Linked DNA regions of Homo sapiens: region 2 is linked to region 1. Evidence: promoter capture Hi-C in 16 types of primary human blood cells and fetal thymus (Javierre and others, 2016). All regions are on one chromosome and are shown on one strand. Each heading gives the region's core, a stretch centred on a gene start or on the middle of the fragment in contact. The rest is flanking DNA. Distances are from core to core; before and after follow the strand shown.

Region 1 (6,552 bases), core at 1,126-3,625:
TCAAATTCACACTATTTCTTTTTATATGTTAATAACAGCTTCTTTAGAAAAGCACAGGGAAATGGGTTCTGCGGACTAAACATTTAGCTTTTAACGTAAATCATTTTACACATATATACTACACACACGATTTAGGATCTAAGTCCTCTTTCACGATCTGACCGGTGCTTGTTCCAATTACAAATGAATGCATTGATCTCACTCTGATAGCCAAACCACGGTATTACTCCATAGTGCCCCCTAGCTCTTTAAGATATATTAGTTTAAAACGGACACCATTTGAATTGTCAACCTCAAAGTGTCAATCACTCCACTTAAGCAGCTCTTACTGTATTAACTAAATTTGACCTGATAAATAATAGATGACTTAATTAAATCTTGCTATTAATCCCAGTAAGAGCTGATGAGAAAAAAATATTAAGAACTGATGGATTTGGAATTCAACCACACGATATACTACAGTTCAAAAGTTTTGTAGAACCTCTCTATAACTCACAATTTGTTTGTTTTTAGAAAGTCATTAAGCAAGGACTCATAAAACATGCATTTAAAATGCCTTCTTTTATGTAACTTAAAGGGAAATGGCATGGCATAGGCCATGGCTCTTCAGAGGAATGGAACCAATTTCTTCATTTTAAAAAATGCTGGGATCAGATTAAGATTTAACAATATCACTATAGTCAAGTTATCATTATCATTACAAACAATCTAAATTGCTAACTGGTAAATCTGTGAGAAGAAAATATCTGACCTTGGTCCTGATTCTAAAAGATAAGTCAGATTTGGACTGGTTCAGGACCAGCAGGGGAAGGCAAAAAGTAAAGAAGACAGAATGACATATACCCCTTCCTTTTGGAAACGGGATTAAGCAAAACTTCTAAGTACAACTGCAACTCCAAAAATCACTCACGTTTGCAAGTGCCCTTCGCCTTACATAAGTCATTCTGAAAAGAAGTCCTACTTTATTCTACACTCAAACTCCAGTACATTCGTACTAACAAGGGAAAAAGCAGAATAGGACCAAAACTGGAGGGCAAACAAACAGGAAAAGGATGAAACTCCAGGAGGAACTACAATAAGGCAGAGTAGAGTACGTCAAAACCACTAGGTTTTATTCTAAAGAATGGTTTTGTTTCTACCGTTCTTCTAAGGTATTTAATTTGCACGTCTTAAAATAGAGACCCTGAGGAGAGCAGCTTGAGGCAGTGGAAGGAAGGGGGGCGGGTTAGGTAAGAACAGAGACTTGTGAGAGAGTATGTGCGGTGCATTAGAATGTGCAATGAAGAGGGTGCAGGATTCACCGTCAGGAAGCAGTTGAGGGCTTTATGAGTAGAGGCAGAATCTGATATGGTTTAAAGAATGCGTATTACAGCCAGAATGCACACCTGGTACAGTGACAACCCTAGACAAGTAGAAGACCAATCCACCCACCGTGCAAATGCAGAGATGACCATTTTAACCAGTTCTATTGTCTGGGGCATTAAATGGAAATGCCCCAGGCAAGAGATCAAGCTAGCCAGACACCAAATCAGAGACACCCTGGGCCAAAAGGAAGGAGAGGAGATGGACAGTGGCCGTGGGGGTATTCCCAGCCATGGGGCCCTTCCTCGTCGGGCAGGGGAGGGGCGCCGGGGTCACGGGGGCCGCACGATCCCCCATCCGCGGAGCCCAAGCGCAGGCGGTCCCCTCCTCGGGCCGGCGACGTCTCTCACGGCGCAGCCTGGGAACACCGAGACTTCCCCTCCCACCCCACCCCCAGCCGAAAGCAGGGAAGACGCGGAACTTGGGCTCCGGAGCGGAGGCCACAGACCAGGTCACGGCCCGGGTGGGGGGCTCTGGGCGAAATTCCGGGTGGCCACCGGGGGTGGCGTAGGGGAAAGCAAAGCCCCGGCTGGTTGCGTTTCCAGTCGGACGACACTCGGGTCCGGGTGCCCGGGCCCGATCCCTTCGCTGCTCACCGACCCCCTGCACCTCCTGGGTCCTCACAGTCCCAGGCCCGCTCGCCTCCGCCAGTGAGGCGGCCTCTCGGGTCTCCCCGGTCCCACCACTGCGGCCGCCCCTCTCGGTAAGCAGCTCCTCTCCCGAACCCTCGCCTCGGACGCTCCCGCCGAGCCCCGGGCCGCACCTCCGTCTTGGTGATCCGGTGCCGCCCCAGCTTCACCACAGCGAAGTTGCCCTTGCCCAGCGTGCCCTCGATGTCGTAGAACCCCACCCGGACCGGCCCGCGCTGCAAGTGCCTCGGGCCATCCGCCATGACCATGCTGGGCCCCGCTGCTAGACACGGCGGACAGGAGCGCGGGCGGGCGGGAGGGTTGGCAGCGCGGCTTGGCTTGGGCGACGGCCGCTCCGCTTGCTCCTTCGCTCCTTCGCTCCTTCCCTCCCGCTCCCCAGGGCCCAGCCAGGCGCGCGCCGCCGCTGACGTGCGCCGACGTCAGGGGGCCGGGGCAGGGGGGCGGGGGCGGGCCCGAGCCTGGATTGGTCACCATGGCGACCGAAGCACCGCCGACGTCGGCTGCTGGAGAGTGGGGGACGGCGCACGGGGAGGGGCGCGAGCCTGGCCGGCGCGCTCCTTCCGGGCTCAGACGCCCTCCCCTCGCCCCTCCGCCTCACCGCTGCCAGGGGCGGGGTCGCTGCTCGGCCCGCTCCGTTCCTCGGCCTTCCAGGCGAAGGGCAAGAGCGAGCCCTGGCGGACCGTGCGGAGGGGTGCAGAGACCTGGATGCGGCCTGCGATCTCCTTCCCCGCCCCGGCGTTCTCCGCCCACCCGGGGTCCTTCCCGCCAAAACCTCTCACCTACAAGTACAGCGCGTCCTAAATTTGGCACCGGCAAAGAACTGTGGCTGAGCAATGCGTTGCTCACAGGCTCCTTTCTTTGTGTCCTTTTCTCTTCTCGTTGCTATATATAATAAAACCCTCCACGTTTTGATGTCTCCGAGGAGTCATTCTGACAGCAGTGCAGTCGCTTATAGACTCACAGAATGTCAATGTCAGCGCTGAAGAGATCTTGGAGATCACTTAATCCAGAGATTTGGAGCCTCATGTGAGCTTCAGAGTTTGGAACCCCCTAAAACACAGGCCAGTTTTTGCTTATGTGAGCATGTCTCTGGGGAGATGGACCCGTAGCTTCTGTCAGATTCCCAAACGCGTTGGTGACTCTGAAAAAGTTTAGAAATATTTCTCTAATCCAATTTTTTTCCCCAAAGGACGAAGAAGACCTCAAGGAATAAAGGGAATTGCCTAGGTCACACAGGCAATAGTCGAGGTAGGATTATAAATCACACCACGCTTCCAAATGTGACTCAAGGAAACAGGGACAGTGACACCTCACTATTTTGAGATGTATCATATGCCTTTATATCTTGGTTTCTAAATACCATTCTCCACCTAAAGGAGCCAGACTCCGTGGCGAGATGGCTCATTCGAGGGCAGAGACAGGGAAAGTATAAAATGCCCTTGAAAGATCCTGCTCCTTAAAGCAAGGAGATTTCTTGGCTATGTCAAGGAAGATATGTCAAAAGAAAGCAGATGGCTCGAAGGTGCTCCCCCCTTACCAAATCTGAGACAGTTTGAGTATCAGGAATAAATAATGGGCCGGGCTTAGTGGCTTACGCCTGTAATCCCAGCACTTTGGGAGGCTGAGGCGGGTGGATCACCTGAGGTCAGGAGTTCAAGACTAGCCTGTGTGAAACCCCATCTCTACTAAAAATGCAAAAATTAGCCGGGCGTGGTAGTGGGCGCCTATAATCCCAGCTACTCGGGAGGCTGAGGCAGGGAGAATTGCTTGAACCAGGGAAGCAGAGGTTGCAGTGAGCCGAGATCGTGCCACTGCACTCCAGCCTGGGCGACAGAGCGAGACTCTGTCTCAGTAAATAAATAAATAAATAAATAAATATAGAAATTGATTCTAACACATTGAATTTTTTAAAAGAATCGTAGAGCATACTTACTTTTAAACAGAAAAATAAAGAGGGGAGAAGTGAAATGACGGTGGAATGCCAACTAATATATGTTAGAAGAAATGACAATTAGCAAATCATTTGGCAGCCATTACAGTAATAATGGATTCAGACAATTATCAATAGATGTTAAAATCATTGAATAAAATTTGGCTGGGGAACAAGATATTTGCACAGTCTTTGGATTTCTTATTCATGATAAAGGGTTAACAAGGGTACCTCTACAGTGGAGAAATCTGACCGACACTACCCTAACCAAATGATCAAAGTTAATGTCACCAATTATGTGATAAAATGACATGATGTGCCTCCAGATGTGAGGCACTGAGGTTACAATATCTCTTAAGTAGTATTCCTGTCAAAAATGCATATTATGATCTAGAAACATCAGAAAGATGCAAACTAAGAAACATTCTACTCAACAACTGACCTGTATCCTTAAAAAACATCAGTGTCATGAAAGTCAAAGAAAGGCTGAGGAACCATTCTAGATTTAAGGGATTTAAAAAGGCATGGCACTAAAGGCAACATGTGGTCTTGAAAAAACATGCTATAAAGGAATATTTCAGAACAACTACTGAAATTTGAATATGGATTACATATTAGATAAGATACTGTTTCAGTGTTAAACTTCTTGAATTTTATAATTGTACTGTGATTATAAGAGAGAGTATCCGTTATTAGGAGATACACACTAAACAATTAGGTATAAAATTTTTGGCCGGGCGTGGTGGCTCACACCTGTAATCCCAACACTTTGGCAGGCCGAGGTGGGCATATCACTTGAGGTCAGGAGTTCAAGACCAGCCTGGGTGGTGGTGCGCCTGTAATCCTAGCTACTCTGGAGGCTGAGGTGGGAGAATCGCTTGAACCTGGGAGGCGGAGGTTGCAGTGAGCCAAGATCATACCACTGCACTCTAGCCTGGGTGACAGAGTGAGACTCTAACAAAAAACAACAAAAAAAAACCTTTTGATATATGCAACTTACTGTCAAGTAGTTTAGCACAGATAGATAAGGCAAATGTGGCAAAGTTTTAAATTGATAAAATAGGTAAAAGGTAGGTAAAAGGGTATGTGGTAGATCGTTGTACTGTTCTTGCAACTTTTCTGTAGTTTTAATTTTTTAATGAAAATTAATATATTGTGTATTATTTTATTTTAAAATTTATATATATATATTTTTTAGTGCAAGATGGCTTTTGGGCCCTCCACTGCTCCCTGTGCTTCTGCTTTTCACTCTCCCCAAGCAATACCTTATTCTACCATGAGGTATGTTGTTTGCAAAAGTGAGGGGAGAAATGGGGGAAAGCTGTAAGGCTGATCAGATTTCTGAATTGATGGGAGTGGTGTATGAGTGGTCCTCTAACTAGTGAGAGGTATTCTAATTAGGCTAGGAACCTACATATGTATACCAGTTCAAAAATAGTTCCCATGTGCATTTTGCCACTTAGATGATTGTATTTTTTTTTTTTTTTGAGGTGGAGTCTTGCTCTGTCGCCAGGCTGGAGTGCAGTGGCATGATCTCAGCTCACTGCAACCTCTGCCTCCTGGGTTCAAGCGATTCCCCTGCCTCAGCCTCCCAAGTAGCTGGGATTACAGGCACGTAGCACCATGCCTGGCTAATTTTTTGTATTTTACTACAGACGGGGTTTCACCATGTTGGCCAAGATGGTTTCGATCTCCTGACCTTGTGATCTGCCCGCCTTGGCCTCCCAAAGTGGTGAGATTACAGGCGTGAGCCACCGCGCCCAGCCAGATGATTGTATTTTAATTGTTCTGGGGGTGGGTTCCTTTGGGAATCTGATGAAAAGCCACTTAACCAAGAACCAGAAAATACGCAGGGAGACCCACTACAGTGAACAACCTCATCCTTTAAAGTATACCTGTTGAATGGAAATGGATTCATTTGAGTATTTAAATTAGATAACCAGGCCAAACACCTACTTGCACAGTCTGGGAATAAGAATTGATTTGGGGCTGGAAAGAAGAAAAAGGGAGGACAGAGAGTACCAAAAGGTTTTGGAAAGCTGGAGTTAGTGTGAGCATGCTGGGTGTCTACAAGTTAGAGAACAGGAGGCCAGAAAGAGGGAAGAGACAGAAGGGGCTGTGCCAAAAATCAGCCTTACTCATGTGGAAATGCAGTGGGCGTGCTACTCAGCGTTACTGGTAGGCTGTAAATGAAACCCTGAAGAAATACATATATGTGGACTAATTTAGAATACTGCAATCTTGGATTCTGTGATTCAACTCTTTCCTTAATCCAAAAGACCTACTCATCCCTGTCCTATTTCAACCCTGCCTGTCTCTTATGTATTTTTGTTTCCAATTAAATGATAGCTGTATACATTTTAGCAATTATTAATATTATCCAACTCCTGCTTTCCTTTTCTCTTCCTCTCTCCCTCTTTCTCCTCTTCTTTCTCTTTCCCTACACACACACACACACACACACACACCATCCTCAGGAAAAAAGAATAAAGATAAGAGGGAAAAGGAGAAGAAAGAGAGCTTCATACAATCCCCATCTTTCTTTTCCGTCTCTGGTTTTAGTATCAGTGAGGGAAAGCACTCTAGTCACCAAATTCCTTTTTGCTTGAG
Region 2 (6,224 bases), core at 1,899-4,398, 84 kb before region 1:
TCACATTTTCACAACAAAAATGACAAATTGATATAAATCTTTATATATACGTGTATATGTGTGATATATATATATATATACACATACACACACACACAAATGAATATAACAAATTAACTTAAAAACATTTTGTCTTATTCAGGCAATCCCATTAGAAAAAAAAAATCACAGACTATAGAATGGAAAATCCATTACATATCCTGTAACATATGTAATATTGACATTTAAAATGAGTAAAAATAATTTGCCTTCCCCTAATTGCCTAAGACAAAAACTAATGGGAAATGGCACAGAAACAAATCAGTTCAATGTACAAACATGAGGGTTTTACCTTATATTTTACACCATATACAGCAAACCGAGGAAGCTACTTTGTCCCTAAACTTACTAAGTTCAATGAGTATCCAACCTAACAGGTCAATTAATAATTTCTTGGTCAGTCCCTGTCATCTGGATGTCTCCCTGCTCTTCTTTAACAATCTTAGAACAAAACACCACCATGTGTAACTTTGCTAAGCTTTTAACCCACACTCTTTCTCTTCAAAACCCAAGTCAAACAAAATCTCCCTTACATACCTTCAACCTCTACTGCTGCTGCTCTAGTTCAGACTCATGTTTTCTTAAATGGACTATTGCACTAGATTCCTTATTAGTCTTCCTGTCTTCCACCTCACCCACATCTCCCACCTATCTTAACTCTGCTGCCAGAGACATATTTCTGACATGCAAATCTAATCATGTTATCCCAATTCCACTTTACCCCTACCCATGCCCTATAATTTTCAGTAGGCTAGACTCCCCATTACCTACAGAATAAACTATAAAATCTTTGACATGGCATTCAAGATGTTTCATATTCTGGTCTTTACTTATCTGCTCCCCCTGTATCAATCCTGCATGCCTACAGATTTTACATGTAACCAGTTTTGAATTTACAGTTCCCCAACATTCCAATCTCTGTCTACCTGCCTGCAACATTCTGCTTCTGTTTATCTTCCTGACAAGCTTCTCTAACTTCTCTCTCAAGTCTAAGTTCAAATAATTCCTTCTTTGTGAAGCTTCCCTGACTCTTCAGGTAGACTGCTTGTTCCCTCACCTATACTCCCATGCAGTTTGTATATACTTTTAAAATTGCAACTATCATACTGTATTTTTTCAGTTTTATTAAAATGTAATTGACAAAAATTGTGTATATTCAAGGTGTACATGCTATTTTTATATATGGATATGTTGTGAAATGATTTCCACATATCATATTGTACTTAACATAGCACAGTACCTGATACATATTTATTGAGTGAATGAGAGTTTTGACTATGTAAATAAAGAGACTGAGAATATAAAATAAAACATTTTACAACTGTGAAAAGGCAAGGAGAAAAACAGGCAAACTAATCTCTACCCAACTTAATTTTCATGTTATAAATCAAAACCCTATCGTATCAGATCAAGGAAAGGTGCTTTTCTGTCTCAACTATTTCTCATTCTACCTCCATCACTTCTTTTGCCTTTTCTCTGCTTCTGGCTGTAGCCATCAGTCATAATTAGGAGAGCAGGCCAGAGTACCAGCAACCAGCATTACTCCTCCAGCCCTGTCTTTTCTCCAGTCACTCTGACACTCAGATAAATGTACCTCTTCCAGCAGAGCACCCCGAAACCCTGCCAATGGAATCTGGACACATCAGACCCCAGATGTAGCTCTGACCTGTGTATATTAATAATGAACTCATTCCCTTACTTTTAATTACACACAGAACTAAGGAAATGAATAAAATGGACTTTGAGATAGCCTGATGTCATCAGGTAGAAATGCTGCTGAATCTGCGCCTGCAGGTCTGTTTCCACACACTGAGTGCAGTGGCTCACTTCGGATCTTATTAGAGCCAGTTGTGTCCCAGTTACCTGCTATTTTGATATTCATGTTGTTATCCAGCAGGAGATTTTCAGCTTTGAGGTCACGGTGCACAATCTTCCGACCATGACAATAATCAACAGCAGACAGGATTTGCCAGAATTTTCGCCTGGCTTCAGACTCATTTAACCGGCCATGATTAGCAAGATAGTCTGTAAATGAAGAGAGGATTAAGAATTAGTCACCAAAATAAAATAACTCCACTATTAGTAGTCAGGAAATTTTTTTCCTCAAAAAGTTTTTTTTCTGGCCAGGAGCAGTGGCTCATGCCTGTAGTCCCAGCACTTTGGGAGGCTGAGGTGGGCAGATCACGAGGTCAGGAGATCGAGACCATCCTGGCTAACACGGTGAAACCCCGTCTCTACTAAAAATACAAAAAATTAGCCAGGCATGGTGGCGGGTGCCTGTAGTCCTAGCTACTGGAGAGGCTGAGGCAGGAGAATGGTGTGAACCCAGGAGGTGGAGCTTGCAGTGAGCCGAGATCGCACCACTGCCCTCCAGCCTGGACGAGAGTGAGACTCTATCTCAAAAAAAAAAGTTTTTTTTTTTAAAAAAAACAATAATTAGTGATAAAGTAATATGGTGTTTTCCAAGTTTCTTGACTTTGAAGAAGTATTTCTTTTTCTTTTTTTTTTTTTGAGATGGAGTCTTGCTCTGTTGCCCAGGCTGGAGTGTAGTGGCGTGATCTCAGCTCACTGTAACCTCCACCTCCCAGGTTCAAATGATTCTTCTGCCTCAGCCTCCCGAGTAGCTGGGATTGCAGGTACCTGCCACCATGCCCAGCTAATTTTTGTATTTTTAGTATAGATGGGGTTTCATCACGTTGGCCAGGCTGGTCTCGAACTCCTGACCTCGTGATCCTCCTGCCTCAGCCTCCCAAAGTACTGGGATTACAGGTGTGAGCCACCGTGCCCAGCCTGAAGAAATATTTCTAATCATATTTCACTGGAGTCCAAATAAATGGTGACAGCCCAAGACCAGTCAGCAGCAAGCAGCATAATATTCACAGTACAACTCAACATGATTTTTTTAATGTCTAGGTACTCTCTCTATTTGTTGAAAAGCTTATTATTTCACACTTTAAAAAAATAAAATTTATGTAAAACAGAGGAAATAAATGAATTCTCTGACATCTTGTCACACAGAAAGACATCTTTTCTGAAACACTGTTTTCATGCAATTATTATACAAACCACCTGTAACATGAGATATGGTGATAACTGGAAGTAGCTTAAATAATTCACACCCTGTGCTGTTCGAAAGAATTCTCGTCTACCCAAGAACATGCAGACTTGTGCTCTAAACCAAACATTGTCATGACAACCATATTCTCTCAACTGTAAGACAAATATATTTTGCAAGATATACTATCTTTATGCAATGTTATAATCTTTAATAAAGAAGCTTACCTAAAAATTAATTCTATGTGACTATGTACATCAATTCAATAAAACTAAACATTACCACTCATTAACATTTCACCCAAAGACCTGAAAGTCCTCTGAAATTATCTTTTGATCAACACAAATCTTGAAAGACTTTTAAATTTAACATAATTGTCCTAACTAGGGAACTGTATGAGTGACTCAATATTCCCAGTCACCTGCACACATTTTCTGCTCTAGTGTTTACTAGCTTACTGGTTTTTAAATTCCCTGCCTTTGGCTCATGTCCTTCTCAATATTTACTATGTATTTTTTTCTTTAGTTTTTCGAGACAGAGTCTTGTCTGTCGCCTAGGCTGGAGTGCAGTGGTGTAATCTTGGCTCACTGCAACCTCTGCTCCCCAGGTTCAAGCAATTCTCATGCCTCAGCCTCCCGAATAACTGGGACTACAGGTGCACACCACCACGCCTGGCTAAATTTTGTATTTGTAGTAGAGACGAGGTTTCACCATGTTGCCCGGGCTGGTGTCAAACTCCTGACCTCAGGTGATCTGCCCGCCTTGGCCTCCCAAAGTGCTGGGATTACAGGTGTGAGCCACCATGCCTGGCCTACTTACTATAAAATTTACTAACATTTATACAATACTTTATACTTTACAAAGCATGTTCATATCACAGTGTCTCATTTCATCTTCCTAAAACCTTCTATGATAACTATTACTCAATTCCCATTTTATAGATGAGAAAGCTGACAATCAGAGGGATTAAGTAATCTGGCTGAATTTGTACAACTGGTGACTGAACAGTCAATCTGGGGCTGTAATATTTGACATAATTTTTTTATTATATTAAGCATCTTTACTAGACTCCTGTTGAAATCCTAACCATCCTTTTATTTTATTTGTTTATTTATTTTTTAGTCAGGGCCTCACTCTTTTGTTGCCCAGGGTGCAGTACAGTGTGCAATTATAGCTCACCTCAACCTCAACCTCCTGGATTCAATCAATCCTTCCACCTCAGCCTCCTGAGCAGCTGGGACTACAGATGCATGTCACCACATCTGGCTAATTATTAATATTTTATTTTTTGTAGAGATGAGGTCTCACTCTGTTGTTCAGGCTGGGCTCAAACTCCTGGACTCAAGCAATCCTCCTGCCTTGGCCTCCCAAAGTGCTGGGATTACAGGTGTGAGCCATCACACCAGACCCTAACCATCCTTTCGAAACTCTAATTAAATGCCACCTTGACCTTAAGTCCCTCTTCACTTCAAACAGAAATAACCTGTTCTCTCAACACCTTGTCACTTATCATACACTGCCTCACACTGTATGTAATAATCTGCATGTGTATCACAAATATCCCAAGGTACACACACATGTGTATACACATAGCCCTTACTTTAAAAGAGGGGTCCTCAACCCCTGGGTCACGGACCAGCACTGGTCCATGGCCTGTTAGGAACCCGGCCCCCTGCCATAGGAATGTGAACCCTATTGTGAACTGCACATGTGAGGGATCTAAGTTGAATGCTCCTTTTGAGAATCTAACTAATGCCTGATGATCTGAGGTGGAACAGTTTCATCCCCAAATCATCCTCCCCAACCTGGGAAAAATTGTCCTCCACTTATTTGGTCACTGGTGCCATTTAAAAGGTTGGGGACTGCGGCTCTAACACATAGTGTTTTGAAGTATTAAAGACAACTTCATTTAAGCTTCCTGAAGACAGGAACCATATTATTCTCTTTTGTACTCTGCAATGCTTAGCACTAAGCATAAGCACAAAGCATCCCATGTATAATTCTTAGTACTTAGCTATTAGCCATATTCTAAATATTACAGGCTTTAAATGTAAGTGGGCATTTTATTCTTTTTTATGGGTTGGCATCAGAAACTGAGATGGTCAGCTCATTACATCTTCCTCTTGCCTTTGCAGAACCTGCATAGTAGCTATCCATAATTCTAAGGGAGAACAGATCACTTAAGAACAAGTATGCATAATTTTTAGTCAAAATGTCCAAACTGCCAACAGAGACAGATTATGTTTAAGAACTGGCAAGTAGACAATGTGCCTTCTCTGCATAAGAGCGAACCAGAGGCTCACTTCTACACTGGATGAGCTGGGAAGTCCACTATAAATACGGACCTTTGGGCAAATATAACCTACTGAGGGGAATGCCAATATGCTTTCTATAAGAGAATATCTTTTGAGTAGTTAATAATATCTCTCCTAAGATTCCACACAAAATGCTATTTAAGCTGTACCGCTAAATGAGACCATTTTTTCATGGACAAATGACTGACTTGTCCAAATAGACAACTTTTTTTTTTCCCTGAAGAAAGTGCTGAGTCAATGGAGGTTAGTGGGAAAGATTTTTGAGATTTTTGGCAACACAGAGAAATCTAACAGATTTAATGTGAATGAGTGGAAGTTTACATATATAGAAAGAGACCCCAAACTACTGACTACAAAATGAGTCCTAGGAAGCACAATGGAATCTATAGTTATTGTTTTTTGAAGCTATCAGTCCAAATTGGGAGTACCACAGGCAAGGGGAAAGAAAAAGTTTGAAACGTGGCAGCAGGAAGGCACTGTCTGAAAAACAAAGGCATTGTATATCTGAATCTAAAGTTACCATGTAAAGACAGAATCATCACCTATCAGTAAATGTAATCTCACACACAGTGTGAGAAAAATGGTCTAAATTCCAGAGACAAACTATTTAGAGAAGTGGCACTTTCACTCTTCAGGTGAAAATCTCGGCAGGCATTCCAGTGTATCTATTATCTTCCCCATGCTTTATGATTTCTGCAGTGTAGGCATCCTTGAAAACTGTAACATCTGCTGAGAAATCAGTAATAGAAGTAAGTGAGCCAGAAACATGTGGCTGCAAATAAAATTTGTTTAGGCATACATCAACCCCTTCAAGG

Evidence for each region. Contacts are between HindIII fragments. The CHiCAGO score rates a contact against its expected background, and 5 or more counts as called.
Region 2: a contact is called between a fragment that was not itself captured here and the fragment with the promoter of SIK2 in region 1, in 1 of 17 cell types (total CD8 T cells). The highest score is 5.2, in total CD8 T cells.

The regions. Positions count from the first base shown.
Region 1 is chr11:111,598,272-111,604,823 of GRCh38, reverse strand. It overlaps SIK2 (salt inducible kinase 2), which reads right to left and starts at 2,375. Exons shown (of 15, transcript NM_015191.3): 1 at 2,126-2,375. The coding sequence starts at 2,260. RefSeq lists silencers at 1,610-1,769, 2,320-2,759 and an enhancer at 2,850-2,989. The HindIII fragment of the contact is 10,147 bases long and covers 1-6,552 here.
Region 2 is chr11:111,683,841-111,690,064 of GRCh38, reverse strand. It overlaps SIK2 (salt inducible kinase 2), which reads right to left. Exons shown (of 15, transcript NM_015191.3): 4 at 1,903-2,064. It also overlaps a transcript of PPP2R1B not described here. Among named protein-coding and RNA genes, the nearest start is that of PPP2R1B, 79 kb to the left of the region's middle. The HindIII fragment of the contact is 340 bases long and covers 2,979-3,318 here.